Linked DNA regions of Homo sapiens: all the other regions are linked to region 1. Evidence: promoter capture Hi-C in 16 types of primary human blood cells and fetal thymus (Javierre and others, 2016). All regions are on one chromosome and are shown on one strand. The core of a region is centred on a gene start or on the middle of the fragment in contact, and the rest is flanking DNA. Distances in the headings are between cores, read along the strand shown.

Region 1 (3,964 bases), core at 793-3,292:
AGGGAGCAGGGCTGGGATTAAAGACAGAGCACCAAGACGGGCCCCTCCTCCCTCCCTCTCCACCCAGGCCATATTCCATGATGCCCAGTCTAAGGGGAGCAGAACTTCTCCATTTCCTCCTGGTGCACAACTCCTGGGTTGCCCCTCTCCACTCACCCCAGAGTTGCTGGAGCCTCCACCTGAGCCAGATGGTGGGGGATTCGTGCACTGTCGAGGGAAAGGGATGGTGAGTTTGGGGACGGTGAGTTTGGAGACGTTGGCCTCGGCCATGGACACAGGCCAGGCCTCTCCCATTCTTTGGGGCTTGGCTTCCTTTCTCCTAATGTGTTTCTCCCACCTCCCCTTCCCATCTGCCTCCTCCCCAGGCCCAGGCCCGTCTCTTCCTCCTTTTTTTTTTTTTTTTTTTTTTGAGACAGGGTCTCACTCTGTTGCTCAGGCTGGAGTGCAGTGATGCGATCTCGGCTCACTGCAACCTCCATCTCCCAGGTTCAAGTGATTCTCCTGCCTCCGCCTCCCAAGTGGCTGCAATTACAGGCGCATGCCACTATGACCGGCTGATTTTTGTATTTTTAGTGAAGACAGGGTTTCACCATGTTGACCAGGCTGGTCTTGAACTCCTGACCTCAGGTGATCCACGTGCCTTGGCCTCCCAAAGTGCTGGGATTACAGGTGTGAGCCACCTCGCCCAGCCCCATCTCTTCCTCTCACCCCAATCCCTCCACTCCCCCATCTTGCTTTCCTCTTTGTCTTTCCCCAGCTCTCTGTAGCCTGCACCCAGTGGCTTCTTCATTTGTTCCCAGCCCCTTCCTCTTACCCCTTCATTCTGGTTGCTGGCTCTCACTGAACCATAGCCAGGCTGGGCCACAGCTCCCTGCAGAGAGGGTGAGACTGAGAGTAGGATCCAGAGGGACCAGGGAGGCACGCGGAGCATGTGGGCTTGGAGGGAGGGAGGTGGCAGGTAGCAGGTCTGGGGGTGACTTTACCTGAGTGTTGGTCCCAAAGTTTGGTGGCCCTCCATTGCCTCCTTGACCCCAGGGAGCTCCCTGAGGATTCATTCCAAAGCTGCCTGCTGAGTTTCCGGGGTATCCGTGGACCCACGGAGTCCCCAGACCTCCAGGATTGCCCTGGCCCTGGCCTCCAAGGCCACCTTGAGAGCCAAAGATGCCATGGCCTCCAGAAGTTTCCTGCAAGAACAACATACCTGCACTTAGTGGGACCATCTCTGACCCTGGTAGAGAAGAGCCAGGGCAAATCATAAAGAGACCAGGAGAGAGACAGGCAGAGGGACTCCAGGGTGGCATAGGAGGGGGGCAGAACATAGAAGGAAGCTGCCCCAGAAGCCTGCAAGTAAGAGATCCATCCATCCTTTCAACCGTTTCCCAAGAATCTCAGCCCAGCAGCCCACAGCCTCCCATTTCCACATGCAGCCCCACAGCCACTCACCCAAGCACCATTGTGGCCAGGCACCCCCTGCCAGGAGCCGCGGACAGCATCTGCTCCGTGTCGAATGACATCTTCTGCCTGTCTGCCAATCTCGTGCCCAGTGTTTCCCAGAGCATGGGCTGCTTCCCCGACCCTGTTGCCCAAAGCATCTGCTACGCCAAAGCCTGGAACCTGCCTGACTCCAGTGCCAACTGCTTCTCTGGTCCCTTGGCCAAGGGCCTCACTGACTTTAGAGCCAGCTGCCCCTCCGGCCTCTTTGCCAATGGCCTTTCCCACCCCTTCGCTCAGGGCGTCTCCCAGGCCATGTCCAAGGGCCTCCCCAATATTTGTCCCAGTGCTTTCCTCTCCGCTCTGCAGGGGGCCAGCCTCCCCACTGCCCAGGCAGAGGGCCAGCAGGAGGCAGGCCAGGGGCCCCTGGAACTTCATCTCTGCCCAGCCCCCTCTCTCTCCAGAGTGTCTTCCTCCCACCAGGGTCTCCTCCTTGCCGCCCTTGCTCTGCGTCTCTGTGCCCTCCTCTGTCCTCCTCCTTCCGACTCCCTGTCCTCCCTCCCTCTGGGTCTGCAGCCTTCTCTCTCCTGTCCTCAACTGCCTGGGCTTCTCAGAGTCCACCTCCCTGTCACTACTCCTTATACTCTAGGTTGGGAGAAGGTGACAGGGCTGGGCAACCTGAGGTCCCTCCCCGCAGTGACTCAGGGCCCAGCCACCAATAGGGTAATCAGCTGTTATTGTGAGTCTGAGAGTCTCTGTCGAAACAGAGAGTGAGCCGCATCAGGGAGGGAGGGAGAAATGGATGAGGTGATGCAAAAGTGCTCCCATTTCCCAACCCCAGGCATTCGGGGAGCTGGGTGGGGGCAGGGGCATCTAAGGAGACAGGTTGTCGTTGGCTCCTGGAGGCGGTGGGGTGGGGGCAGACTTAGAAGAGAGGAGTTACTGGCAGGACCCCACCAAAGGAGTAAGGACAGGGAAGCCCCAGGGGACAGGACCCACCCAGGCTCAGCCAGCCTGGCTCAGGGGCTCCAGAGTGACAGGCATTGCCCGTCCTCGGCCTGGCCTTTCTCGGTTTCAGCACCTCAGCCTCTCCTCTCCCTCTCCCCTCCCGCATTGCCACCTACAGGTGACTGCCTTCTTGTTCCTCCACACCTTCCAGCCCACAGAGAGAGACTGGCAAACACGGGGCTGCGTGTCAGTTTCTGAGATTCTGGGGAGAGCCCCCGGGGGGACCCTCGGTGTCGGGGAAGGAGGTGGCCATAGCCCTTTGAGTGGTCAGCAGGGTGTCTCAGCGTTCAGGCTGCTCCCGGCTGAGAAAGCTGGGCGCGGAGCAGGGCAGCCAGGCGCGCCAGCCACCCCCAGGGAACGAGTGGGAGGGAAGGCCAAGGGAGGGAGCCGCTGACCCAGGCACCCATCCTGTTTACGCAGCCCTAGAGGGGCACGTGTGAGTATAAGCGCCTATGAGGGGCGGGACTGGGCCAGCTCACCCCACCCATCCCCCAGGCCAGGGGCCAGGGCAGCAATGGCAAGCGAGAAGAGGGTAGCGCAAGGTCAGGAGCCATCCGTGAGAGCCACGGCCCTCTCCCCAGTCCCAGCTCGGGATACAGAACCTGGGAGCCTCCCCCCGCCTCACCCCTGCCCAGCAAGTGTGGCTGCTTCTCTATTCCCAGGGGCCACAGGGCCTCCCACTGTTTCGTATCACTGGGGTTCATCGCCCAGTTAGGAGGGGCCAGTTTCCATCAGCCTTTCTCAATGTCTCTCAGTCAGTCTCTCTCTTCTCTCCACCCCAATATCCGCACCCCAGCTTATAACATCCAACACTTCTTACCTTGTAAACACTATCCCCATCTGTCCTCCTCAGCTCCTACTTCCCTGTTATTCCATCTCTGACTCGTTAATGATGATAATAGCGATGGTGGTAATAATAATAATAATAATAATAATAATTACAGCTCCAGCTTATCAGCGGTTCTGTATGTACCCAGCATTGGACTAAGCACAAGCAGTTTAAGAATTATACAACTCTGGGAGATGGTTCTTTTTTTCTAGAGACAGGGTCTTGCCCAGGCTGGAGTACACTGGCACAATTGTAGCTCACTGCAGCATCGACCTCCTGGGCTCAAGCGATCCTCCTGTCTCAGTCTCCCAAGTAGCTGGGACTATAGATGCACACCAGCACACCCAGCTAATTTTTTTTTTCTTTTTGAGACAGAGTCTTACTCTGTTGCCCAGGCTGAAGTGCAATGGCACGATCTTGGCTCACTGCAACCTCCGCCTCCCAGGTTCAAGTGATTATCCTGCCTCAGCCTCCCAAGTAGCTGGGATTACAGGCGCATGCTGGGCCTGTAATCCCACGCTGGGCTAATTTTTGTGTTTTTAGTAGAGACAGGGTTTCACCATGTTGGCCAGGCTGGTCGTGAACTCCTGACCTCGTGATCTGCCTGCCTCGGCCTCCCAAAGTGCTGGGATTACAGGCGTGAGCCACCGCACCTAGCCTCCAGCTAATTTTTTAATTTTTATTTTTGTGGAGATG
Region 2 (3,964 bases), core at 394-2,893, 470 kb after region 1:
CCCCTCAACCCACAGGCTCAGCCTCATCTCTGCATTGACCCTCCCTGTCATTGGACATCCCATTAATTATTTCATTGAGTCATCCATTGCCCTCCCCCAGCTGATCCTACTACGTTTGTTTGTTTGTTTGTTTGTTGAGACAGAGTCTCTCTGTTGTCCAGGCTGGAGTCCAGTGGCGTGATCCCGGCTCACTGCAGCCTCAACCTTCTGAGCTCAAGCAATCCTCTCACCTCAGCCTCCTGAGTAGTTGGGACTATAAGCACACGCCACCACAACTGGCTACTTTTTAAAATTTTTTGTAGACAGGGGGTCTCGCTATGTTGCCCGGGCTGGTCTTGAACTCCTGGGCTCAAATGATCTTCCTGCCTTGGCCTCCCAAAGTGCTGGGATTAGAGGCATGAGCCACCATACCTGACCAATCCTACTGCTGTTATACTGACTTGCCCATTAATCCCATTTACTGTCCTATTGACCCCACCCGACACCGTCCCGACCTCCCACACTGATGCTTTCTGAGCAGTTTGTTGACCTTCCCAGTGATCCATTGACTGGCCTATTAATGTCCTCATTTACCCCCTGTGGACCTGCCCATCAAGCCCCCACCCCTGCCATCTACTGATTCTCTACTGAGCTTCCTATACTGGATATGACTAACTCCTGCACTGCATTCCCCTGCTTTTCTATTATCCCTCTAATTGAGCCTCTCTTTGACTCATCTTCTCACCCTGTTGAGTTTTCTATAGTGTCCCATTCATTCATTGGCACACCTTCTCCTAGAGCACTGTCCAAGTCTCACTAGGCCCTCATTGATCATAGAGGCATCCTTCCCAGTAGGATGTTGCCCATTAACCTTGAACTGCCATCCACAAACCCAGCAGCGTTTGTCAGTCACTGACTACCCTTCTGACTCCACCCCCATTTACTCTCCAGGGGAGCCCCCATTGTCGCCCAAAGCCACTAAGCCTCGGTCCTCAGTGATCCACGGAGTTGTCCATCCCTTCCTCCATTGCCCTTTTCTAGATCCTCCCCTTGCCCCCCGCTGCTGGCCCCTCTTCACTGACTCTTATCCATTCTCTTATTGCCCCTCATTGAACTTCCACTGACCTCTCATCAACTCTGGCCATCCAACCACTCTGCCATGGATCCCCCTTTGAATCCTATACTGACCCCCCATTGAGCCCCAAGCTTACCTCCCACCAAATCCTCCTATGATCCCTAATGACTCCCCCCATTAACCAGCCACTAAGGTTCTCTTTGACCCCTCTCTGATCCTTTCTGCTGACTCCCCCACTACTCAGTGACCATCTCCTGCTGCTGTTCAACCTGCCTGCATGCCCTCTGTGTAGGTAGACGGAATTTGGGAATCGCTGCCCTTCTCTTATGGCCACCACCTCCACACCCAACTTTGGGGCTGCCAGCTGTACATGGACACAGACTTTGGCCTCTTGCTATGACTGGGACAGCCTGGCACTTGTGATGCTGCCATGGCCATATGGACCCTACCTGTGTAGACTCTGGCCCCAGTGACCCTATTACATCCTTGCCCAATGCCCGGAAGGTTGCTAAGTTGCCAGGTTGCAGCCAGGTCTGTGGGCCCCTCTGCCCTGGATTTTGCCAGATGGCCGTGCATGCCCTATTCACCAGGAATGGGCAGTGAGTGTGGCTGGCAGTGGCGGTGGATCCCTTGGAGCCCGGCTATGCAGCACTGTGACCAGGCCCATTCCTCAGCAAGTGCCTGGCCCACTGTGTGCCACCAATACAGCGCCCACTGAACCATATACTGGGCCCTGGCTGCCTACACTGTGGCTTGCAGGGCTCTGGGAGTCTGCCTTCTGTCACGAGTGTGCTTTCGAGAGAGGGGTAAGCTCTGAAGAGCCCTGACATGGGCCACCAGGGGACGGTCGCGTCAGGACCAACAGAAGTTCAGGCCTGGGCAGTGGGGCTAGGCGAGGAAGGGTGGGTACTGGAGAACAGTTAGGACCAGATTAGATGCGGCAAGACAGGCAGGGGTATGACTTGATTTGATTGGTCTGGTTTGATTAACAAGGTCTTTTTAAAATTTTTAACAATTTTTATAGAGACAGGGGTCTCACTATGTTGCCCAAGCTTGCCTCGAATCCTTGGGCGCAAGCGGCTCTCCCTCCTCAGCCTCTTAAAGTGCTGGGATTACAGGCGTGAGCCACAGCGCCCGGCCTGATTAACAAGGTCTTTCTGTCTTTTATGCCTCTTTTTTCGGTGTCTCTATGTCTCCTCCGTGCCGCTGGCTCTCTGCATGTCTCTCTTTCTGGACCTCCCTCTGCCCCGCCCCTTCCCCTGTTCCCGTTCCCCTTCTCTCGGTTCCTCGTTGTTTCTTCCCCGGGCACACCCGTGCTGCTCTCTGCGGGCATCCTCCATCTCCGCCTCCCCCATCCGACCCTGGCTATGTCTCCCCCACCTCTCTCTGTCTCTGTCCCTGACCCTCCCACCCCCGCGGCCCGCCCCAGCTTTGCGGTGCCCGCTGCGTTCGCGCTGAGCTGCGCGCTACCTGGCCACATGCGCGGGTGACAGCCCTGCCGGGAGCGCTGAGTATGCGGCCAGGGCTTCCCGCTGAGCGGCGCCTCTGAGTGCCCGCAGCCGAATGCGGCTGCTTCCTTGCAGGCGGACACCCACCGCTGGGCACCGTCTGGTACCCTGCCCCTGCGGCCCCCGCCCCCGCGCTCCGCCCCTGTGCTCTCCCTTGCTGGCCCGCACCATTCCCGGGCTCAAAAAAATAAATTAAAAATTAGGCGGGGGGGGGGGGGGGTGGTGCGCGCCTGTGTTCCCAGCTGCTCAAGAGACTGAGGTAGGAAGATCCTTAAGCCCAGGAGGTCGAGGCTGCAGTGAGCCATGGTGGCGCCACTGCACTCCAGCCTAGGCAACAGAGCCAGACCTCGTCTCTAAAAGAATTAAATAAAATTAAAAAGTGTATGTCTTTAAAAGATAAGGGTGTTTAGGCCAGGCACGGTGGCTCACTCCAGTGATCCCAACCCTTTGGGAGGCCGAGGCGGGCAAATCACTTGAGGTCAGGAGTTCGAGGACAGCCTGGGCCAACATGGTGAAACCCTGTCTCTATTAAAAACACAAAAATTAGCCGGAAGTGGTGGTGCATGCCTGTAGTACCAGCTATTCAGGAGGCTGAGGCAGGAGAATTGCTTGAGCCCAGGAGGTGGAGGTTGCAGTGAGCCGAGATCGTGCCACTGCACTCCAGCCTGGGCAACAGAGCAAGAGTCTGTCTAAAAAAAATAAGAAAAAAGAAAAAAGACAAAAAAAAAGATAAGGGTGTTTAGCAGAGTCAGCTAGATGGTGGGGATGGAGTATAGGAAGGACAGGCATGACTGAGTAGAGACAAGATAAAGGGTTATGGCCTGGTGCGGTGGCCCACGCCTGTAATCCCAGCACTTTGGGAGGCCAAGGCAGGTGGATCACGAGGTCAGGCATTCAAGACCAGACTGGCCAAGATGGTGAAACCCCGTCTCTACTAAAAATACAAAAATTAGCTGGCCATGGTGGTGCGTGCCTGTAACCCCAGCTACTTGGGAGGCTGAGGCAGAGAACTGCTTGAACCTAGGAGGCGGAGGTTGCAGTGAGCCAAGATTGCGCCACTGCACTCCAGCCTAGGTGACAGAGTGAGACTCTGTCTCAAAAAAAAAAAAAAAAAAAAGGTAACAGGTTATTAGCAGGGTCGGGAAATGAATGATGGTAATCTAGACTCTTGATGGTTACAAAGCAGAGATAAGTGATCATTTAAGCAATAGAGAGAAGGTGGAATTGATACTTTGGTAAGTCATTCCTTTCCTCACCTAGAATGTTGAACACATATTACCAATGTGCTAGTGACTGGCTATGATGTTTTTTGTTTGGTTGGTTTTTGTTTTGTTTTGTTTTTGGAGACAGAATGTTACTCTGTCACCCAGGCTGGAGCATAGTCATGTGATCACAGCTCACT
Region 3 (3,964 bases), core at 693-3,192, 460 kb before region 1:
TTAGAACGGTGCTTAGCACCTGGAGGCATCAATACAATTTGAGCTATTCTTCTTCTTCTTGAAAATAACTTTAAATTATTATTTTTAGAAGTAGGTGCTCAGTGGATGCCCATTTAATAGATAAGAAAGTTGAGGCTCAAAGATATGATGGCACCTGCCTTAGGTTCCAGCTAGGAAGGGGTAGGGTCAATATTTTTAAATGAGGCTGGCCAGACGCAGTGGCTCACTCCTGTAATCTCAGCATTTTGGGAGGCTGAGGAAGGAAGATCGCTTCAGCCCAGGAGTTTGAGACCAGCCTGGGCAACATAGCAAGACCACGTCGCTAAAAAAATTAATACATAAAATAAAATGAGGCTGGCAGATTTTCAAGTGGAGGGGCAAATTTGATCTTGCAACTGGGTACCATGAGAGAGGTCTGATTTAGGGGGTATCTAGGGGCAAAGCATCTAGAACAGCAGAAACGACTGAGGCAGCGAGGAAATGCCAGCGGCAGGGAAGAGAGCTACCAAGAGGGCAAAGGTTGGGGGTCACAGTCCCAAGAAGAGATGGCCCAAAGCAAAGACAGAAATACAAAAGCACAGTGTCACTGGGGAGGAGACATTCCCTAAGTGCCAGGAAAGTGCAGGGCGGAGGTGGAGACCGTGGCAGGTGGCCCGGCCATGCCCCCCTCCCAGCTGGAACCCTGGGGGAGCTGGGCACCTGGTTGTTCACACGGCAGGGGAGGAACAGCCCTGTCAACTGCTGGCCCCGGGAAACTGGGCCTGGGGAGGACATGCTTGGGCATAATAAGTTAGCCCTGGGGGCAGGGCAGAGCTGGCCTCGGGCCCAGACCCTGCCGCAATGAGGACAGGCCTGGCTGTGGCCCCAGCATGGTGTCTGTTGCAGGTGGCCGGACTGTGCCATGCTGCTCCAGACCCAAGGTGGCAGCTCTCACTGCGGGGACCCTGCTACTTCTGACAGCCATCGGGGCGGCATCCTGGGCCATTGGTGAGAGCGGTTCCTGTGCCTCTGACCTCCCCTGGCCCCTGCAGCCTCCAGCCTGCCTGCCCTCACCCCTCCCTTCTCTGCAGTGGCTGTTCTCCTCAGGAGTGACCAGGAGCCGCTGTACCCAGGTGAGTGGAGCAGGCTGGGACCCTCTGGGGGAGCCCTGGAGGACACGTGTATCTGGCGGGAGCTCAACAAGCGTATTTGTTGAATAAATGCACAAATGCATGCAGAAATGCTAATCATAATAGTGCATTTGTATTGAGTGCCTGCTATGTACCAGGCACTATTCTAAGCACCCCACATGTCTAACCCAGACTTTTTCAGACACCAGTGTATTACTCATGAGTGCCTCATAAAATTAAATTAGTGAGTTGGAAAACCATGTTTTTTTTTTAAGTATGAAATAGATTCGATTACAGACTATCACAGTACATCTCTCAGTAAGTAAAGGTTATGCTAATTTTTGTTTGTTTTTTTTTTTTTTTGCATCCATATACATGTAATCCCACTGCATCCCCACACTCTGAGGGTGGGACTGTTATTCTCCCTGTTTTACAGATGGGGAAACTGAGGCTTTGAGCAATGCAGCAGTTTGCCCCAGACTACAGAGCTATGGGCTACATCAGGATGTAAAAATGTGTTTCTTACTGCGTGGCATGGTGAAAACATGTTGGGGAGGCATGATATAAATTCAGTGGACCCTTCTAACTCTCCTAGGAGGTAGTTTTTTTGTTTGTTTGTTTTAAAAAAGAAAAAAGTCTTGCTCTGTCACCCAGGCTAGAGTGCAATGGTGCAGTCTCAGCTCACCGCAACCTCTGCCTCCCAGGTTCAAGCGATTCTCCTGCTTCAGCCTCCCAAGTACCTGGGAATACAGGCGTGTGCCACCATGCCCAGTTAATTTTTTGTATTTTTAGTAGAGATGAGATTTCACCATGTTGGCCAGGACGGTCTCTATCTCCTGACCTTGTGATCCACCCGCCTCGGCCTCCCAAAGTGCTGGGATTACAGGCATGAGCCACTGCGCCTGTCCCTGGTAATTAGCTCCATTTTACAGATGTGCAAAATGAGGACCAGAGAGGACATGCAGCTGGGGAACGAGGGGCCAGGAACAGCTCTTAGACTTATCCACTGTAAGTGTGTCTGCAGGCATGTGGAATGAATGGCCACACAAATAAATAGATAAAGAAACTAACTGTGGGATGAATGAATGAATCTTCCCAAATGCCAACTTCAAGCTGCCATTCCCTGATGCAGGACAGCAGGAAAAAAGGGGAAGTTGGGTGGTGGGATGTATTTTTCATGTCTGTGAGCCTCATCTAATTCCATAAAGGATTCAGTTCACACTAAAATCAGAAATGAAAATCCAGACAAGAAAAGCCAACATCAACATTAATCATCATTACCAGCACTTAGCATTTGTATGCACCAGCCAAGGCCTTGGGACCTTATGATATCAACTCATTAAGTCTTCCCAACAACCTGTTGTTTTTCTTTTCTTTTTTTTTTCTTTCTTTCTTTCTTTCTTTTTTTTTTTTTTTTTTTTGAGATGGGGTCTTGCTCTGTCGCCCAGGCTGGAGTGCAGTGACACGATCTTAGCTCATTGTAACCTACATCTCCTGGGCTCAAGCAATCCTCCCATCTCAGCCTTCTGAGTAGCTGGGACTATAGGCTAATGCCACCATGCCTACACAAAATTATTTTGTCAATAACAAATTATTGTTATTTTTATCTTTTTGAGCCAGAGTCTCGCTGTGTCGCCCAGGCAGGAGTGCTGTGGCGCGATCTTGGCTCACTGCAATCTCCATCTCCCAGGTTCAAGTGATTCTCCTGCCTCAGCCTCCTGAGTAGCTAGGACTACAGGCACGTGCCACCACACCCAGCTAATTTTTGTATTTTTAGTAGAGGCGGGGTTTCACCATGTTGGCCAGGATGGTCTCAAACTCCTGACCTCAGGTGATCCACCCGTCTCGGCCTCCCAAAGTGCTGGGACTACAGGCATGAGCCACCACACCCAACCTCATTTTTTAAATTTTTAGTAGAGATGGGATCTTGCTACATTGCCCAGTCTGATCTTGAACTCCTGAGCTCAAAGCAGTCCTCTCAGATCAGCCTCCCAAAGTGCAGGGATTACAGGTGTGCACCACCACAACCCATTTTCCTATGGGGATGCTGAGGCACAGAAAGGCTGAGTGACTTGCCCCAGGTCATGGAGCTAGTCAGTGTCAGGGCTGGGATTTGAACCCAGGCAGCCTGCGTAGTAACTGTATATAGTGTCTACACTTGATTGCTTGTTAAAAAAAAAAAAAAAGAACAGCTGAATTCATTGCCATAGTAAAGACTGACATATGCCAGGCCCTGGCGGCAGCCTTTACCCAGCAGGCCTATGAAGTTAGGGCTGTTACATCCCAACATTTTGCATTTGGGGGAAATTGAGTCCCAGTGAAGCAAACTGACTTGCCCGAGGCTGACCACACATCAGAGACAGAGCGAAGGGATCACGCCCCTGTCAAAAGCCCCTCCGTGACAACACGTGGCATTGAGATAAAATCCCAACCCATCACAGGCTCCAAGCCTCCTAGTGTGGAGGCCCCTCTCCACCCCCACCTCACACTGGCTTCTAGCACCCTCAGGGCCCAGTCCCTTGCTCAAATGACCTGCTCACACAGAAGTCTCTACTCACCCACTTCTTTCTAGCTCACACCCAGAGGCAGATTTCAGTTCTGCACAGTTCCTTCTGAGCTGTGGGGCCTCCCACCAGTCCCTACTCTCTCCAAGACTCAATTTCCTCATCTGTGAGATGGGGGTAAGAAGAATCAGTGGGAATAAGAGGAGATAAAAATCTGTGTAGTACTTGGGCGGGGTGCGGTGGCTCACCCCTGTAATCCCAGCACTTTGGGAGGCCGAGGCAGGCAGATCACCTGAGGTCAGGAGTTCGAGACCAGCCTGGCCAACGTGGTGAAACCTCATCTGTACTAAA
Region 4 (3,964 bases), core at 1,042-3,541, 450 kb after region 1:
ACAGGGTCCTTTTCTTTCACCCAGGCTGCTGTGCAGTGGCGCAACCGTGGTTCACTACAGCCTTGACCTCTGGGCTCAAATGATCCTCTAGCCTCAGCCTCCCAAGTACCTGGGACTACAGGCGTGCACCACCATGCCTAGCTAATTTTTATTTTTTGTACAGACAGGGTCTTGCTATATTGCCCAGGCTGGCCTCAAATTCCTGGGATCAAGCAATTCACCTGCCTCAGCCTCCCAGACTGTTGGGATTACAAGTGAAAACCACCACCCTCAGCCTATAATAATATTGTAACGATTGCTTTTCCCTGGGGAGAGGGGCCGAGACCAGAGCTCAAGTCTCTTGCCAAGCTCACACAGCTAGAAAGTGGCAGTGTCTGGATTTGAACCCAGGTCTGTCTGTGTCCACAGTGCAAGCTTTTAACCACCTTTTTGGTTGTGGGGGGTGTTGTTTTGTTTTGTGTTTTGTACCACCTTGCAAAGACTTATAAAGTAGTCTAGACTTATGTGCTAAGTGGCAAGTGCTTTTATAAATAATGTACATACATTATATAATGTTCTCTTTACAGTCATCCTGGAGATGGGTCTTTTTGTTATCCTCATTTCATAGAGAAGACAGTTGAAGGTTTAAGCCATGAAATCACTGCCCAAGGCCACATGCTGAACAGATGTCAGCTTTGAACCCCAAGCCTGCTTGGGCTGCTGGGAAACAGGCATGTTGTCTCAGAGGGCACCGCGCTCGGCGAAGACTCAGCGAGACTGGACGCTGACCATGGTTCTGAACACACTGTGCTGCGGGACCTGGGCTTTTCCTGTAACCCTGAAATCCCATTCAACCTCTTACGGTCCTGAGAAACAACGGAAGACCAGGGAGATGAGAGAAAAGTGAGGGAATGCTGAGAGAGAGAGGCTGGGTTTCTTAGAAATGAAGACAAGGACTTCAATTCATTTATTTATAACAGCTCAGAGCTGGACTCTGGAGCCAAGAGTCCTGGATGCAAATCCTGCTCCAAGCTGTGTGATTCTGCATAAGTCAATTCATTTCTCTGACTATCTACTTCCCCTCTATTAAAGGTGGATAATAGTATGAACATCATAAGGTTGTTGTGGCATTTTAAATTAAATTATTTATTATTCCTATTATTATTTAATAGAAATAGAGATGGGGTCTTGCTATGTTGCCAGGCTGGTCTCAAACTCCTGGGCTTAAGCAATCCACCCACCTTGACCTACCAACACACTTGGATTACAGGCATGAGCCACTGCACCTGGCTCTAATTTTTTATGTTTATTTATTTATTATTATTATTATTTTTGATATGGAGTCTCACTCTGTCGCCCAGGCTGTAGTGCAGTGGCGCAACCTCGGCTCACTGCAACCTCCGCCTCCCAGGTTCAAGCAATCTTTCCACTTCAGCTTCTCTAGTAGCTGGAACTACAGGTGCCTGCCATCACTCCTGGCTAATTTTTGTATTCTCAGTAGGGATGGGGTTTCATCATATTGGCCAGGCTGGTCTTGAACGCCTGACCTCAAGTAACCCACCTGCCTCAGCCTCCCAAAGTGCTGGGATCACAGGCATGAGCAACCGCGCCTGGCCTTATTTTTATTCATTTATTTATTTATTTATTTATTTATTTATTTATTTATTTTGAGATGGAGTTTCATTCTTGTTGCCCAGGCTGGAGTGCAATGGCAAGATCTTGGCTCACTACACCTCCACCTCCCAGGTTCAAGTGATTCTCCTGCCTCAACCTCCCAAGTAGCTGGGACTACAGGCACAGGCCAGCACACCCACCTAATTTTTGTATTTTTAGTAGAAATGGGGTTTCCACATGTTAGCCAGGATGGTCTTGAACTCCTGACCTCAGGTGATCTGCCCATCTCGGCCTTCTAGAGTGCTGGGATTATAGGCATGAGCCACCACACCCAGCCTTTTTTTTTTAATTAAAAAAAAAAAGTAGAGATGGGGCCTCACCATCTTGCCCAGGCTGGTCTTGAACTCCTGGGCTTGAGTGATCCTCCTGTCTTGACCTCAGAAAGTGCTGGGAGTACAGGCGTGAGCCACTGCACCCTGCCAGCGTTTTTTAAATGACTTCATAGAACACTGTCTGGCATGCAGTAAATATTTGCCAGTATTACTTTGCAGCAATTTTTTTTTCATTTTCTTCAGGCTAGGCCTGTTCTAGGCACTGCAGATGCAACAGTGAACAACACAGACAACATCCCTGCCCTCAGGGAGCTGACACTCTAGCTCAGTCCATACGAAAACTCTATATTCCATCTTTTTTTTTCTATATTCCATTGTGATAGAAAATATGCAAAGTTCTACAGAACACAAGATTATTCTTAAAAGTTCACTTTGGGGTCAGGTGTGGCGGCTCATGCCTGTAATCCCAGCACTTTCGGAGGCCGAGGTGGGCAGATCACCGGAGGTCAGAGTTCGAGACCAACCTGAGCAACATGGCAAAACCTCATTTCTACTAAAAATACAAAAATCAGCCAGATGTGGTGGTGCATGTCTGTAATCCCAGCTACTTAGGAGGCTGAGGCATGAGAATCTCTTGAACCCGGGAGGTGGAGTCTGCAGTGAGCTGAGATCACACCACTGCACTCCAGCCTGGGTGACAGAGTGAGACTCTGTCTCAAAAAAAAAAAAAAAGTTCACTTTGTAGGTGGCTAGCTTCGTGCACTGATAGCAATGAATAAATAACATCCCTTCCTGGGAAGAAGGAAGGAATATATGTCTCCAGTTCCCCACAGCATACACACATGCGCACGCACACACGCGCACACACACACACACACACTCTCACATCCTACCCTCAAGTCTGCTTAATGTGGCAAGTTGAAGTCCTCGATGGCCAGAATCAATGCACCATACATTTGCACTGGCATAGAGATGCTCACATAATTGAATCTGGCTGTCTTCAGATGCAGCCTGTGCTCTCGAGCTCCCTACAGACCTATTCTACACCCAGGCCGTGCTGATCATTTTGTCCCTCAGTCCCACTCTTTTCTTTCTGCTGATACATACAGACCCAGTTTATTTTAAATTGGGAACACTGATAGCTTCTGAATGTTGAGTTTCCAGTGCCAGGGACCCTGGAGGCCCGGGGTATGAAGGCAGGTCGGGGATGAGGCTAAATTCCAGGATCCAATTATATTGCATCCTTCCCTCATCTCATCTCTAAATATTTTGACTGAGGAGGAAGTGAGCCCTTTCATAGAGTCCCATCCCCTCCTAGTCTTCCCTGGTGATGCCACTCCAGTTCCAGGTCTCCTGTGAGGGCCATACATGCTCTGATGGGACCACATGTCAGCTTGTGAAGCACAGACTTAAGTGTGTGGCTGGGCACAGTGGCTCACACTTGTAATCCCAGCACTTTGGAAGGCAGAGATGGGTGGATCACTTAAGCTCAGGAGTTGGAGACCACCATGGGCAAAATGGCAAAACCCTGACTCTACAAGAAATACAAAAATTAGCCAGGTGGCATGCACCTGTAGTCCCAGCTACTTAGGAGGCTGAGGTGGGAAGATGGCTTGAGTCCAGGAGGTGGAGGTTGCAGTGAGCTGAGATCGCACCACTGCACCTCAGCCTGGGCAACAGAGCCAGACCCTGCCTCAAAATAAAAAAGAAAAAGAAAAAAGAAAAAAACAAAAAACAAAAAAGTAATTTAAAATCTAAATAAATAAATAAATGAAAAAGGCCTAAATGTGTGCCCACCACTCAGGTCACATGTGAGTCTGAGACCTTGTCCAGTTCCAAGATGGCAGGACTCCAAAACACCGTCCATCTTCAGCTCTAAGACCATGGCAGTGGCTGCATCAGGACCAAACAACACACCTGAAGCTGAGCCAAGGCTTGTGCCTGTGCTCCTGGGGGGACCTGAGCCTGAACCTGTGGCCATGGCTCATCTGGGGCTTGCACAAGTGACCGTAAATGAACCCTGCCCTGAACCTGTAGCT
Region 5 (3,964 bases), core at 1,027-3,526, 440 kb before region 1:
CCACTGCTTTGTTGGTCAGGAGCCCCCAGGCCCACATCGTGTTAGCAGAGCCTCAGTGCAGTTTCCCCAAACGTCTACCTCTGGCTGTGGTGTTCTACCCATGGCATGTGGGATGTAATTTGAGACCTGACCTACGGCTTGCTTTGTTAGAAACGTATTGAGTTACAACACGGAGTGACTGAGTTTTCCTTTGTAATTGCCAGCTGAGAAATGTACTGTACCTGTGTTTTAGGAAGTCTGGGGACTCTGAGAGAACATGGTCCACCCTGGGGGTTCTAAACTGAGGTGACCATGTCCTGGAGGGACACAGTTTGCTCTGGTGAGGAGAAGGGCGGGTGTGAGGGGCACTGAAGAAGGCATGGCCCTGCCCTGGGAAGTCTGGGGGGGATGTGGCCTTATTCTAGGGGATCTGATGGAAATTTGGTCATTAAAAGCCAACAGGCATCCTGCTGGGAAAATAAAAACCAGGTGGCCATGTTATTGGAAAGGGGTCCTGATCCAGACCCCAGGGGTTCTTGGATCTCGTGCAAGAAAGAATTCATGGCAAGTCCACAGAGTAAAGTGAAAGCAAGTTGATTAAGAAAGTAAAGGAATAAAAGAATGGCTACTCCATAGACAGAGCAGCCCCGAGGGTTGCTGGTTGCCCATTGTTATGGTTATTTCTTGATTTAGTCTTGATTTATTATTTAGTTATGCTAAACAAGGGGTGGATTATTGACGCCTCCCCTTTTTAGACCATATAGGATAACTTCCCAACATTGCCACGGCATTTGTAAATTGTCATAGCGCTGGTGGGGGTGTAGCAGTGAGGACAATCAGAGGTCACTTTCATGGCCATCTTGGTTTTGGTGGGTTTTCCCGACTTCTTTACTGCAGTCTGTTTTATCAGAAAGGTCTTTATGACCTGTATCTTGTGCCGACCTCCTCTCTCATCCTCTGACTTAGAATGCCTTAATTTACCGGGAATGCGGGCCAGCAGGTCTCCGCCTTACTTTACCCAGGTCCTATTTAAGATGGAGTTGCTCTGGTTCAAACGCCTCTGACAGCCATTCTGAGTTCTGTCTGCACTGTTGCTTTGTTGGAGGAGTGGAGGGGCTGGGGAGATTGTGATTCACTCAACAGCCATTCACTGGTTTCCCTTGTATGCCAGGGGTCAGTGAGCCTCAGTTTCTCCTCCTGCTCCCAGCAACCTTGCCACTCACCCCAAAGAGCTAGGAAGATATTTAAAAAGAATAATAACAGTCACAAGGTTGCTTTCAGTTCCTGCCAGGGTCTCAGTCTTCAGAAAAGCTGAATATGAAAATTACTTCCATGTCATTGTGGTGCCGCTCAGAATCAGAAATATTTGACCCATCTTACAGAATTAGTGCAACTACATCAGGAACCCAAGCCAAGTTTTGCATTCCTATTTAGCATTTATATCTACATAGTCCTTTTCAAATATAGAAAAGCTTTCTGGATGTTAGTTGGAACAGATAGCTCCATATGTGGTTATAAGTTGGCATTCTCCCAGCTGGGTTGAAGGAGAAATGTACAGCTACTCTGCCACAACAGTTATTTCATACATAAAATCACAGCCATGATTAGCAATGATGGTGAAGGCTATTCATTTTATATTCAGAAATAATTATTGTGAACATTCAGATAGCAGCATAAGTAGGGAGATGGACTTTAGTTTCTGCATAAAAAGTAACACTGTTTCAATCCTGCAGTTATGAAGCGAGGAGCTGTTTTGGCTCTTGCTGCATGACATACCACCCAAAGCTAGTGGGTACAGTAAATGCTCATGGATTCTGCAGCTCAGAAAGTTGGACAGGGAACAGCAGGCACAGCTTGTCTCTGCTCCCTGATGACCAGGTCCTTAGCTAGAAAGCCTAAAGGAACAGGGACTGGAATAGGGAGGCTTCTTTTGTTTGTTTGTTTTGAAACAGGGTCCCACTCTGTCGCCCAGGCTGGAGTGCAGTGGTGTGATCATGGCTCACTAAAACTTCTACCACCTGGGCTCAATCGATCCTCCCAACTTAGCTTCCCAAGTAACTGGGACTACGGGTGTGTGCCACCATACCCAACTAATTTTATTTTTTTTTTGTAGAGATGGGACTGGTTGCCCAGGCTGGTCTTGAACTCCTGGGCTCAAGTGACCCTCCTGCCTCGGTATCCCAAAAGGAGGCTCTTTACTCACAAGTCTAGTATCCGGGCTGGGATCACTCAAAAGCTGAGCTCAGCTGGTACTGTGGACTCATTGTCTGGCTAACTTGGGCTTCCTTCCAATATGGCTACCCAAGGACATTTGAACTTCTCACGTGGTGGCTCATGGCTCCAGAGTGAGCATTCCAGCAGACACTGGCCTTTACACCCCAGCCTCATTTCTGCTCCACTCTGTCAGCTGAAGCAATCACAAACCTGTCCAGACCCTAGAGGAGGAGATGGAGACCCCACCCTTTGGTGGTGGAAGGCAGGTCAAAAAATTTGGGGCCACATCTTAAAACTGCCCTAGGAGCTTATGGACTATCGGAGCAAATTAACAGCTGACAAAGCAGAGAAATGATCCCTCAGTAAGGTGTTCAACCTGAAATATTTCCCTGCTAAAATTGTGGATAATAAAATTATGACAGTAATAACTTTTTAGAACACTTTCACATTTGTTCTTACATTACAGAAGTTCATTCTAAGAAGGTGATAGTCAGCTTTGGGCAAATCTTTAATTTAATACTTCACTAATTAGCATTTGGCCACAATGCCTGTTTCACTTCTAAATAATAATAATAATTTATATTAATAAACATATCCATGCATATTTTTGAGCACTTCCTATGTGACAGGTACTGTACTGAGAGTTTTATACATGTTACTTCAGTATTTCCCCAAATTCAGATGTTTGAAAGTGGCTGTCTTAATTTTTGCTATTCATTCATTCAAATAATATTTATTAAGCACCTATTATGTGCCAGACACTGTTCTAGGAATTGGAGAAATATAGGGGACAGGACAAACCAACTTTATGGAGCTTAGGGGCAAACAAATACCGCTGGTACTACTTGTATTGTTTTATTCAAATTATCTCTTTTCCTTTTGTGTGTGTGTGTGTGTGTCTTTTTTTTTTAAGCTTAGCCTTGACTTTATTTATGTATTATTTTTATTGATTTATTTATTTTGAGACCGGGTTATGAGACTGGCTAATTTTTGTATTTTTGATAGTGATGGGGTCTCGCTATGCTGCCCAGGCTGGTCTCAGACTCCTGGGCTCAAGCGATCCACCTGCCTTGGCCTCCCAAAGTGCTAGGATTACAGGCATGAGCCACTGTGCCCTGCCAGCCTTGACTTTAACAATAATGTTTATGAAACTGTGGGTTTGAGGCCGGGTGCAGTGGCTCATACCTGCAATCCCAGCACTTTGGGAGGCCGAGGCGGGTGGATCACGAGGTCAGGAGATTGAGACCATCCTGGCTAACACGGTGAAACCCCATCTCTACTAAAAATACAAAAAAATTAGCCAGGCATGGTGGCGGGTGCCTGTAGTCCCAGCTACTCAGGAGGCTGAGACAGGAGAATGGCGTGAAGCCGGGAGGTGGAGCTTGCAGTGAGCCGAGTTTGCGCCACTGTACTCCAGCCTGGGCGACAGAGCGAGACTCTGTCTCAAAAAAAAAAAAAAAAAAAAAAAGAAACTGTGGGTTTGATGTGGCGGTGGCAGATATATGTTTTTCAATATAAATCAAAACAAATGTATTAAATAAACAAATGCTAGTGAAATAATAACAATTCCTTCTTCACTGCCATCCTATACTCTCCCGGGGTTTCCCGCCAGCAGCCCATGTGCCGCCCTTTGGGAAACACTTGTTTCATCGCCATGCAAGCTGGGAAGGAGGGTCTGTGGGGTTTGCTGTCCTACAGAGGGGCTGCATATCCCGTCCAAGGTCCACCTCCGAGGGGCAGGGCTGGCGCTGGGGCCTGGGGCTGGAACAGC
Region 6 (3,964 bases), core at 858-3,357, 420 kb before region 1:
TGTGGGTTCACAATGTGTTGACCTGCTTTATTATTGATGATTCCAATACTGCTACTAGTTACTAAGGTCATTCCCTGTGTGCTAAGTGCTTAATAATATTATTATTGGCTGGGTGCGGTGGCTCACGCCTGTAATCTGAGCGCTTTGGGAGGCCGAGGCCGGCGGATCACCTGAGGTCAGGAGTGTGAGACCAGCCTGGCCAACACGGCGAAACCCCATTCTACTAAAAACACAAAAATTAGCTGGATGTTGTGGTCCACGCCTATAATCTCAGCTACTTGGGAGGTTGAGGCAGGAGAATCGCTTGAGCCCGGAAGGAGGAAGCTGCAGTGAGCCGAGAAGGCGCCACTGTACTCCAGCCTGGGCAACAGAGCGAGACTCTGTCTCAAAAAATATATGTATTATTATTATTACTGTCAGCACTATTGACTTTTTAAAATATTAGCCATCACTTATTGAGTGCATAGCCCCCACTACACACTTTGGCAATGTAATAGTAGTAATAATAACAATAATCAAAACAGCTCATTTTATTTATCATTAATAGGTACAAGACTCTGTCCTAAATGTTTTAGCATTGTGGTCAGTGCTATTTTTTGTTTATTTTTATTTTTTTATTTTTATTTTATTTATTTATTTATTTTTTTGACACAGGGTCTTGCTCTGTTGCTGGGGCTAGAGTGCACGGGCGCCATCTTAGCTCACTGCAGCTTCAAATTCCCTGGCTCAAATGATACTCCCCCTCAGTCACCTGAGTAGCTGGGACTTCAGTTGCGTGCCACCATGTCTGGCTAATTTTTAAATTTTTTGTAGAGATGAGGTCTGACCGTATCGCCCAGGCTGGTCTCAAACTCCTGGACTCAAGGGATCCTTCTGCCTCAGCCTCGCAAAGTACTAGGATTACAGGCATCAGCCACCACACCCAAACCATTTGTATTATTTTGATGGCCAACATTTGAGTAGTGATCACACATCAGGTCCCATACTGCTAATAATAATAATTAAAATGTGGCCAGGCGCGGCGGCTCATGCCTATAATCCCAGAACTTTGGGAGGCTGAGGCGAGTGGATCACCTGAGGTCAGGAGTTCTAGACCAGCCTAGCCAACATGGTAAAACCCAGTCTCTACTAAAAATACAAAAATTAGCTGGGCGTGGTGGTGTAGCAGGACGAGCTGCAGACAAAACCCCTCAGACACTGAGTTAAGGAAGGAAGGGCTTTATTTGGCCAGGAGCATCGGCAAGACTCACGTCTCAAAAAACCGAGCTCCCCGAGTGAGCAATTCCTGTCCCTTTTAAGGGCTCGCAACTCTAAGAGGGTCCACGTGAGAGGGTCGTGATCTATTGAACAAGCAGGGGGTATGTGACTGGGGGCTGCATGCACCAGTAAGAACAGAACAGAACAGGACAGGGATTTTCACAGTGCTTTTCTATACAATGTCTGTAATCTATAGATAACATAACTGGTTTGGTCAGGGGTGGATCTTTAACTACCAGGCCCAGGGTGTGGCGCCGGGCTGTCTGCCTGTGGATTTCATTTCTGTCTTTTGGCTTTTACTTCTTTCTTTGGAGGCAGAAATTGGGCATAAGACAATATGAGGGGTGGTCTCCTCCCTTAGTGGCAGGCACCTATAATCCCAGCTACTCGGGGGCTGAGACAGGATAATCACCTGAACCCGGGAGGCAGAGGTTGCAGTGAGCCGAGATTGTACCATCGCACTCCAGCCTGGGGGACAAGAGTGAGACTTCGTCTCAAAAAAAAAAATTTTAAATGTATTGGGGGCTGGGCACAGTGGCTCACACCTGTAATCCCAACACTGTGGGAGGCCAAGGTGGGCGGATCACTTGAGGTCAGGAGTTGGAGACTAGCCTAGCCAACATGTCAAAACCCTGTCTCTACTGAAAAATACAAAAATAAGCCGGGCATGGTGGCACATGCCTGTAGTCCCAGCTACTTGGGAGGCTGAGGCACAAGAATTGCTTGAACCCAGGAGGCAGAGGTTGCAGTGAGCTGAGATAACACCACTGCACTCCAGCCTGGGTGACAGAGCAAGACTCCATCTCAAAAAAATAATTAAATGAATAAGCTAAAATATATTGGGTATTTACTTTGTGTTCATGCCTGGGCTAAGCATTTTATGAATAGTAATAATAATAATAATGGCTAATATATTAAGAGTTTGGGCATTTACAATGTGCCTTGTGTAAGCATATTAAAATAATGGTGATATTAACAATAATAATGGCTGGTATGTACCAGGCATCTGCTGTATTGCTGTGCTAACCAGTTAATGATATATAATGATAACCATCGTGAACATATTTTGGTCATTTGCTGCGTGTGTAATCCTGTCATCGGGATAAAAGGTAATATTTTCTGAGTGCTTATTATGCCTTGAGCACTGGGCCAGCATGTTATTAATAATGGTATCAGATATATGTCAAGAACTTGGTTACTGTAGGCCAGCTGGGTGGTGAGAGCCTCATGCGTATGACCGCACTGACCTTCAAACAGCCCTTTGATTGCCTCCAATGTGCAGAGGGGGAAACTGAGGCTACAGGATGCACAGAGATCTCAAGGGACAGAGCTAGGTCTGGACTCCAGGTCTCTCTGACCCCAAAATTGTGCTGCTAATCACTAGGCTGTGCTTTCCACTGAGAGAAAGCAGGTGTCACAAGTTTGCTGCCCTCTGGGTAAGGCAGTAGCCTGTCATGATGGTCAGACCCCCAGCTGTTGAATCTGGGCATGGCATTCCTGCCCATCCCATGCTGAGCCGGCCCCTGAGCCTCTGCTCTTCTGGGTCAGCTGCCAGGCCAGCCTCGGGCCTCCACCAGGCCCTGTTTGGGTCCACCTGGGCTGGGCTGGGCAGGGCATGCTGATCTGGCCTCCGACCTGGTCTGGCTGAACCGATGCACCCGCCGCTGCAGCTGTGACAGAACGGGGCATTTCCGCTGCAGCCCGGCGTGCTGCCCCACTGGGAAGATCTGTGGTCTGCAGGGTGGCCAGCTGGGCTGCCAGAGCCCCCTGGGCACCTGCATGGCCACTGGAGATCCTCATTACTTCACCTTCGATGGGGCCATAGCCCACTTCCAGGGCACCTGCACCTACCACCTGGCCTATGCCATCCATCCATTCATCCATCTATCATCCATCCACTCATCCATCCTTCCATCCATTCATCCATTCATCCATCCATCCATCCATCCATCCATCCATCCATCCATCCATCTATCCACTCATCCATCCTTCCATCCATCCACTCACAAAATTTTTCTGAGTATCTACTTTGTAGCAGGCCCTGCTGTAGGCTCTGGAGACACAGCAAAGAACAAAAGAGACAGGTCTCTTCTCTCCTAGAGTGCACATTATAATAGTGAGAGACAAACAGTAAAAAATAAATACATAATATTTCAGATGGTGATAAGTCCTAGAAAAATAAAACTAGAAAGGAGAATCAGGAGTGCTTGTGAGTATGGGGTGGGAGTTATAATTTTTAAACAGGGTGAGCAGGAAAAGCCTCATTGAGGAGGTGACTTTGGAGCAGAGACTTGCTGGAGGGAAGGAGAAGCCTTATGAGCAATGAGGGAAGAGCCCTCCAGGCACAGGGAACCTTAGGTGCAAAGTCCAGACGCAGAAATGCCCTTAGCCTTATTAAGAAAGAACAGGGTAATTCCAGCAGTTTAGGAGGCCAAAGTGGATCACTTGAGGAAGTTCAAGGCCAGCCTGGGCAACATAGGTGAGACCCCCATCGCTACTAAAAATTAAAAATTAAAAAATTAGCCGGGCATGGTGGCACGTGCCTGTAGTCCCACCTACTTGGGAGGTTGACTTGGGAGGATCACTTGAGCCCAGGAGTTGGAGGCTGCAGTGAGCCATGGTAGTACCACTGCACTTCAGCCTGGAGGACAGAGTGAGGCTCTGTCTCTAAAATAAAATAAAATAAAATTTTAAAAAAGAAAGAAAG
Region 7 (3,964 bases), core at 1,465-3,964, 400 kb before region 1:
CACTCCAAATGAGACCTAATCCCCAATAGGGTGCAAGTGACTGCACAAACTCTACTCCTCACAGCCCTTCCTAAGACTCAGTGTGCTCATCACACTAGGGTCTCAGAGTCCTTCTGACCATAAACCCAAGCCCCAGCGCCAGCCCAACACACACTTGGACGCAGCATGTTCACGTCCAGCCTAGGAAGAATTTATGGTTGACCTGGATTGGGTAAAAACCGTAAACGTCTGTACCTCAGAATGTAAGATCATGGTGTTTAAAACTACAGAACATTCAGAGGTTGTCAGAAGTCTCTAATTGCTGGTCCCCCAGGTTGAAACCAGCCCTTAGGTTGAAATTTTGACCTGCAAATTTTTTTTTAAATCTGAACCAAATTTTTTAAATTAAACCCCTTTAAGGTAGTACATTTTCAAGATGCAAAATTCAAAAAATATAAGAGGGCACGTGATAATGAGTGAGTCTCACTTCCACCCCACCCTCCAGCCTCCCAGTTTCCCTCTCCAGAAGCCATGGGTATGGATGCCAATCTCCAAAAATATTTTATTCATTACAAGTATATACATATGCATTATTTTACCGCTCACAAATGGTAGCACACTGCACGGTTTCCCAATACCTTGTTTTTTTTCCCCTTAGCAAGCTGTCTGGGAAATACTTCTGTATCTAACCACGGGCAGGGGTGTTCCTCCAAGATTTTTAGACAACAGTTCTCCAGTTCACCCCGTTCCGGTGAAGGGCAGAGCACCCCCCGCCCTTCCCAGCCACCCTGTACACGCCCCTACTCGCTCTCGGATGCCTGCAGTTCCCAGGCTTCCCAGCAGAGGGAGACACCATTCCACTCCCAAGACCACCAAGGGGTCGTCCCAGACACAAGCTTCAAGGGTCTAGGGAAGAGACGCTATCCGCCCAGACACAAAGACCCCCCTTAGCTATACTGAGTTGGCCTCCGGGCCTCCCCTTCCTGTTTCTATCTCCTCCTGGACCTGTTGCTTAGAGCCCTACCCCGAGGTCCCCCCGCCCGGCTTCCTTATGGGAACTGGCCCCGCCTTAAGAGTGGTAGGAGGGAGCCTTACCCTTGTCTAGGACCTGGGCTTGACAACTTGCCCCAGGGAACCACATAGAGAAGGGGTGTAGCGCTGGGCGAACATTGCCCTCCCCGATCCCTCAGCGATGACAAGTGGGGGGTCCTTCTCTCTGCCCCCAGCAGGCCAGTTTCCGGAAGAGCCTTGACCCAAACCCCCTTTTCCTGTCCTGTGCTCCACACTCCCAGCAGCTGCTTCTCCCTGGCCAGGCCCTGCAGCCCTCCTCCCCGCCCCCACGGTGGTGTTGGGGTCGCCTGGAGTCCAGCTGGTGTCCAGGGCAGAGCTACCCCTTTCCTGGCCCTACCCCTCCCCGTGACCCCAATCCTCCGCCAACCGCTCAAAGGATCCTTGTTCTCCATCCAGCCCCCAGACAAAAGTCCCTCTGTCTAAGAAGGCGGAATTGAGGGGAGGGGGCACCCCCAACTGGGACCATGGGGGAGCCTGCACAGACCCCATCCGGAAGGAATGCCTGGAGGAGGAGGAGCAGGAGACAGGGGAGGAAAGGGGGAGGGAGGCTTGTACAGTGCTGGGGGCCTTATGTGGACTAGGAGGCAGCCGCCCCCACCAGCACCCACTCTGTAGACCCAGGCGTCTGGCTCCCAGCACCCACGGAAAGAGCCTGGCTAGGAAACTGCAGCCTGGTGCCTGGCAGACAGTTCTCATTCTCCCCAGGGCAGGGAGCAGGTTATGACCAGGACTAAGGTCCCAGAGTCCCCACCCTGACCCCTCCCTGCTGTTCCAGCCGCTCCCTCATATCCACCCCTGCCCCATCTCCTGACTTTGGTCACGCTAGCATCTTCTGCTGATCCTGAAATTGTACCAGCGGCAAGATGTGGCCTGGAAGGGGACTTTAAGTTCTCCACAACTGCCAGCAATCCTTCCACCAGGCAAAACACATCATCTAAGGAAAAGAAGTGAGGTCGGAACACCAACGCATCATCTCACTGCATGGCCCTGGAGGCTCTGCCGTTTAAAGACCCCAGAACCTTCCCCATTCAAGGTCCTCTCCTGGGCACAGGAGATTGGAGAAAGCTCCTCCCTTAATTCCAGGGGCCGAGTTCCAGCCCATCCAATTCTCCGTCTCACCTGAGGCTGCTGTGGTCCTGGTGACCCCAGGGAGCAACCTGCCGCCCATGGCTGGGGAGGGGGTGAAGCTGTCTCTTTAAGAGCAGGAATGGAGCCCCTGGGCCTCAGGGCATCTGACTTGTTTTCTACCTGCCCAGGTTTGCTTAGGGCGTGGCAGCTTCGGATAAACGCAGGACTCCGCCTGGCAGCCCGATTTCTCCCGGAACCTCTGCTCAGCCTGGTGAACCACACAGGTGAGCAGCTGGGGCCCCTTCCTCCAAGCCCTCCTTGTCTCTGCCCCTAAATTAGGAAGTATCTACCTGCCCCCTGACCCTGCCCCATAGAAGCTTTTATGTTAAAGCGCCTAAAATCTTGTGAAATGCTTTTCTGGAGCCAGGAGATAAACGGAAGTCCCTTCCCCTAATGTCCCTTTCCCCACCATTCTCCTCTCAGGGACTTGTTGAACCAGCTGAGGTGAGGGCAGGACTGATAAGTGTGGTTGGGGTGTCTGAAAGACTAGTGTCTGCATGGATTAGGGATATCTGGGTTGGGGATAGCTGGGTGGAGGAGAGGGGGTGCCTGGGTAGGTAGGGGTATCTAAGTGGACCAGGGGTGCGTAGATGGACTGGGGACATCTGGGTGGATGAGGAATGCTGGGTGGACTCGGGGTGTCCAGACATTGAGGGATCTGGGTGGATAAGGAGTGCTGGGTGGACTCGGGGTGTCCAGACATTGAGGGATCTGGATTCTGGAGACCTCCAGGAAAAAAGGATGGAGCTGCTGGGGGAAGCTTTAAATGGGGAGTTGCTTGGGAGATTTCAGGAGCACACAGCGGGCAGGATCTTTCTACCCACCCCTGAACATGAGACCATTCTCCCATGGTATGGAGGAATAGAGGGGATAGCAGAGGGCAGGTGGGGGAAACAGTCCTCAGGCCGGCCTTGGGACCTCATGGCCAGGAAGGATGAGAGCAGGTAGACAGAGCATCAGCTGCAGGGCTGCCTTCCTCTCTAACCTGCTCACCAACCACATCAGTTCGGGAGCAGCCCACAGCCTCTTCAGACAACAGCCTGAATGGGGAACGTGAGGGCAGACCCAGCTCCCGGCTCCCTGCAGCCTCCGGAAGCATGGGACTGGACGTTGTTTTGCAGAGGCTGGGGCGAGGAGGATACCATCTGTCAGTCTTGGCTGGATGACATCATGGGAAGGGGGTATAGTGGGGCCTTGCAGGCCAGAGGTGGCTTGGAGGAGCCCCTGGAAAGAGGCTTAAGAGGTGAGACTCAACAGCCATGGCGACAGAGCATAGGGCTTTAAGATGAATTTGCAGGGGTTACAGGATTACAACTGCAATGTGGGCTAATAATAGTGCCCCCTGCATTAAGCTGCAGAGATTGAGCGAGTAAGTGGGAAGCTGAGAAAATGCCCCCATGGGGTAGACACTCAATAAGCATCTGCTGTTATTACCAGGACTCGTATGGTCATGGGTGACAGCTTCAGACCACAGGCAGTCCACCTACAACCTGTGCCCCTATCCAACATGCCATCCTGCCCACCCACCCACGCCAGCTCCCCCAACCCCCAACACTTTTGGGGATCCTAAACACTTCCTGGGCCTCAGTAATGCTCCCCAAAGCCTCAGGCTTTCTTCCCGCAAAAAAAGGAAAAGAAATGGATGCTCCAACTAAAATTGTGAGTTCAGCATGTGGAATTAACTGGGAAGCTGAGAGGATTCCCAGGCCCTGGGGTGCCAGGCAGAGGGAGGAGTCTGTGCCAACCTGCAAGGACCACCCGCACCGTTGGTTGCGGGCACCACCCT

What was found. Contacts are between HindIII fragments. The CHiCAGO score rates a contact against its expected background, and 5 or more counts as called.
Region 2: a fragment that was not itself captured here is called in contact with the fragment with the promoter of DMKN in region 1 in 1 of 17 cell types (M0 macrophages); the score reaches 8.6 in M0 macrophages.
Region 3: a contact is called between a fragment that was not itself captured here and the fragment with the promoter of DMKN in region 1, in 10 of 17 cell types (naive B cells, M0 macrophages, naive CD4 T cells and 7 more). The highest score is 11.1, in naive B cells.
Region 4: a contact is called between a fragment that was not itself captured here and the fragment with the promoter of DMKN in region 1, in 2 of 17 cell types (M0 macrophages and erythroblasts). The highest score is 5.9, in M0 macrophages.
Region 5: a fragment that was not itself captured here is called in contact with the fragment with the promoter of DMKN in region 1 in 16 of 17 cell types (naive CD4 T cells, naive CD8 T cells, M0 macrophages and 13 more); the score reaches 12.9 in naive CD4 T cells.
Region 6: a contact is called between a fragment that was not itself captured here and the fragment with the promoter of DMKN in region 1, in 10 of 17 cell types (naive CD8 T cells, total CD4 T cells, naive B cells and 7 more). The highest score is 9.8, in naive CD8 T cells.
Region 7: a contact is called between a fragment that was not itself captured here and the fragment with the promoter of DMKN in region 1, in 9 of 17 cell types (monocytes, total B cells, naive CD4 T cells and 6 more). The highest score is 8.8, in monocytes.

Annotation. Positions count from the first base shown.
Region 1 is chr19:35,511,607-35,515,570 of GRCh38, forward strand. It overlaps DMKN (dermokine), which reads right to left and starts at 2,043. Exons shown (of 16, transcript NM_033317.5): 1 at 1,444-2,043; 2 at 984-1,184; 3 at 815-871; 4 at 157-207. The coding sequence starts at 1,869. The HindIII fragment of the contact is 13,607 bases long and covers 1-3,964 here.
Region 2 is chr19:35,984,728-35,988,691 of GRCh38, forward strand. No RefSeq gene overlaps it. Among named protein-coding and RNA genes, the nearest start is that of SDHAF1, 8.5 kb to the right of the region's middle. RefSeq lists an enhancer at 2,216-2,275. The HindIII fragment of the contact is 921 bases long and covers 1,184-2,104 here.
Region 3 is chr19:35,048,405-35,052,368 of GRCh38, forward strand. It overlaps HPN (hepsin), which reads left to right. Exons shown (of 13, transcript NM_001384133.1): 3 at 886-987; 4 at 1,071-1,112. Among named protein-coding and RNA genes, the nearest start is that of HPN, 8.7 kb to the left of the region's middle. The HindIII fragment of the contact is 5,328 bases long and covers 1-3,964 here.
Region 4 is chr19:35,962,981-35,966,944 of GRCh38, forward strand. LOC105372383 (a long non-coding RNA gene) reads left to right here. Exons shown (of 5, transcript NR_136525.1): 5 at 567-1,090. Among named protein-coding and RNA genes, the nearest start is that of LRFN3, 29 kb to the left of the region's middle. RefSeq lists silencers at 624-924, 674-874. The HindIII fragment of the contact is 3,759 bases long and covers 413-3,964 here.
Region 5 is chr19:35,068,408-35,072,371 of GRCh38, forward strand. The region is part of intron 3 of HPN-AS1 (HPN antisense RNA 1); the gene reads right to left. Among named protein-coding and RNA genes, the nearest start is that of HPN, 29 kb to the left of the region's middle. RefSeq lists enhancers at 1-153, 154-839 and a silencer at 2,224-2,424. The HindIII fragment of the contact is 1,655 bases long and covers 1,450-3,104 here.
Region 6 is chr19:35,091,250-35,095,213 of GRCh38, forward strand. All of the region lies in intron 1 of LOC124904701 (hepatitis A virus cellular receptor 1-like), which reads left to right. The region is part of intron 2 of HPN-AS1 (HPN antisense RNA 1); the gene reads right to left. Among named protein-coding and RNA genes, the nearest start is that of HPN-AS1, 13 kb to the right of the region's middle. The HindIII fragment of the contact is 6,053 bases long and covers 1-3,964 here.
Region 7 is chr19:35,113,958-35,117,921 of GRCh38, forward strand. It overlaps FXYD3 (FXYD domain containing ion transport regulator 3), which reads left to right and starts at 1,866. Exons shown (of 9, transcript NM_005971.4): 1 at 1,866-2,002; 2 at 2,307-2,402. The HindIII fragment of the contact is 443 bases long and covers 2,494-2,936 here.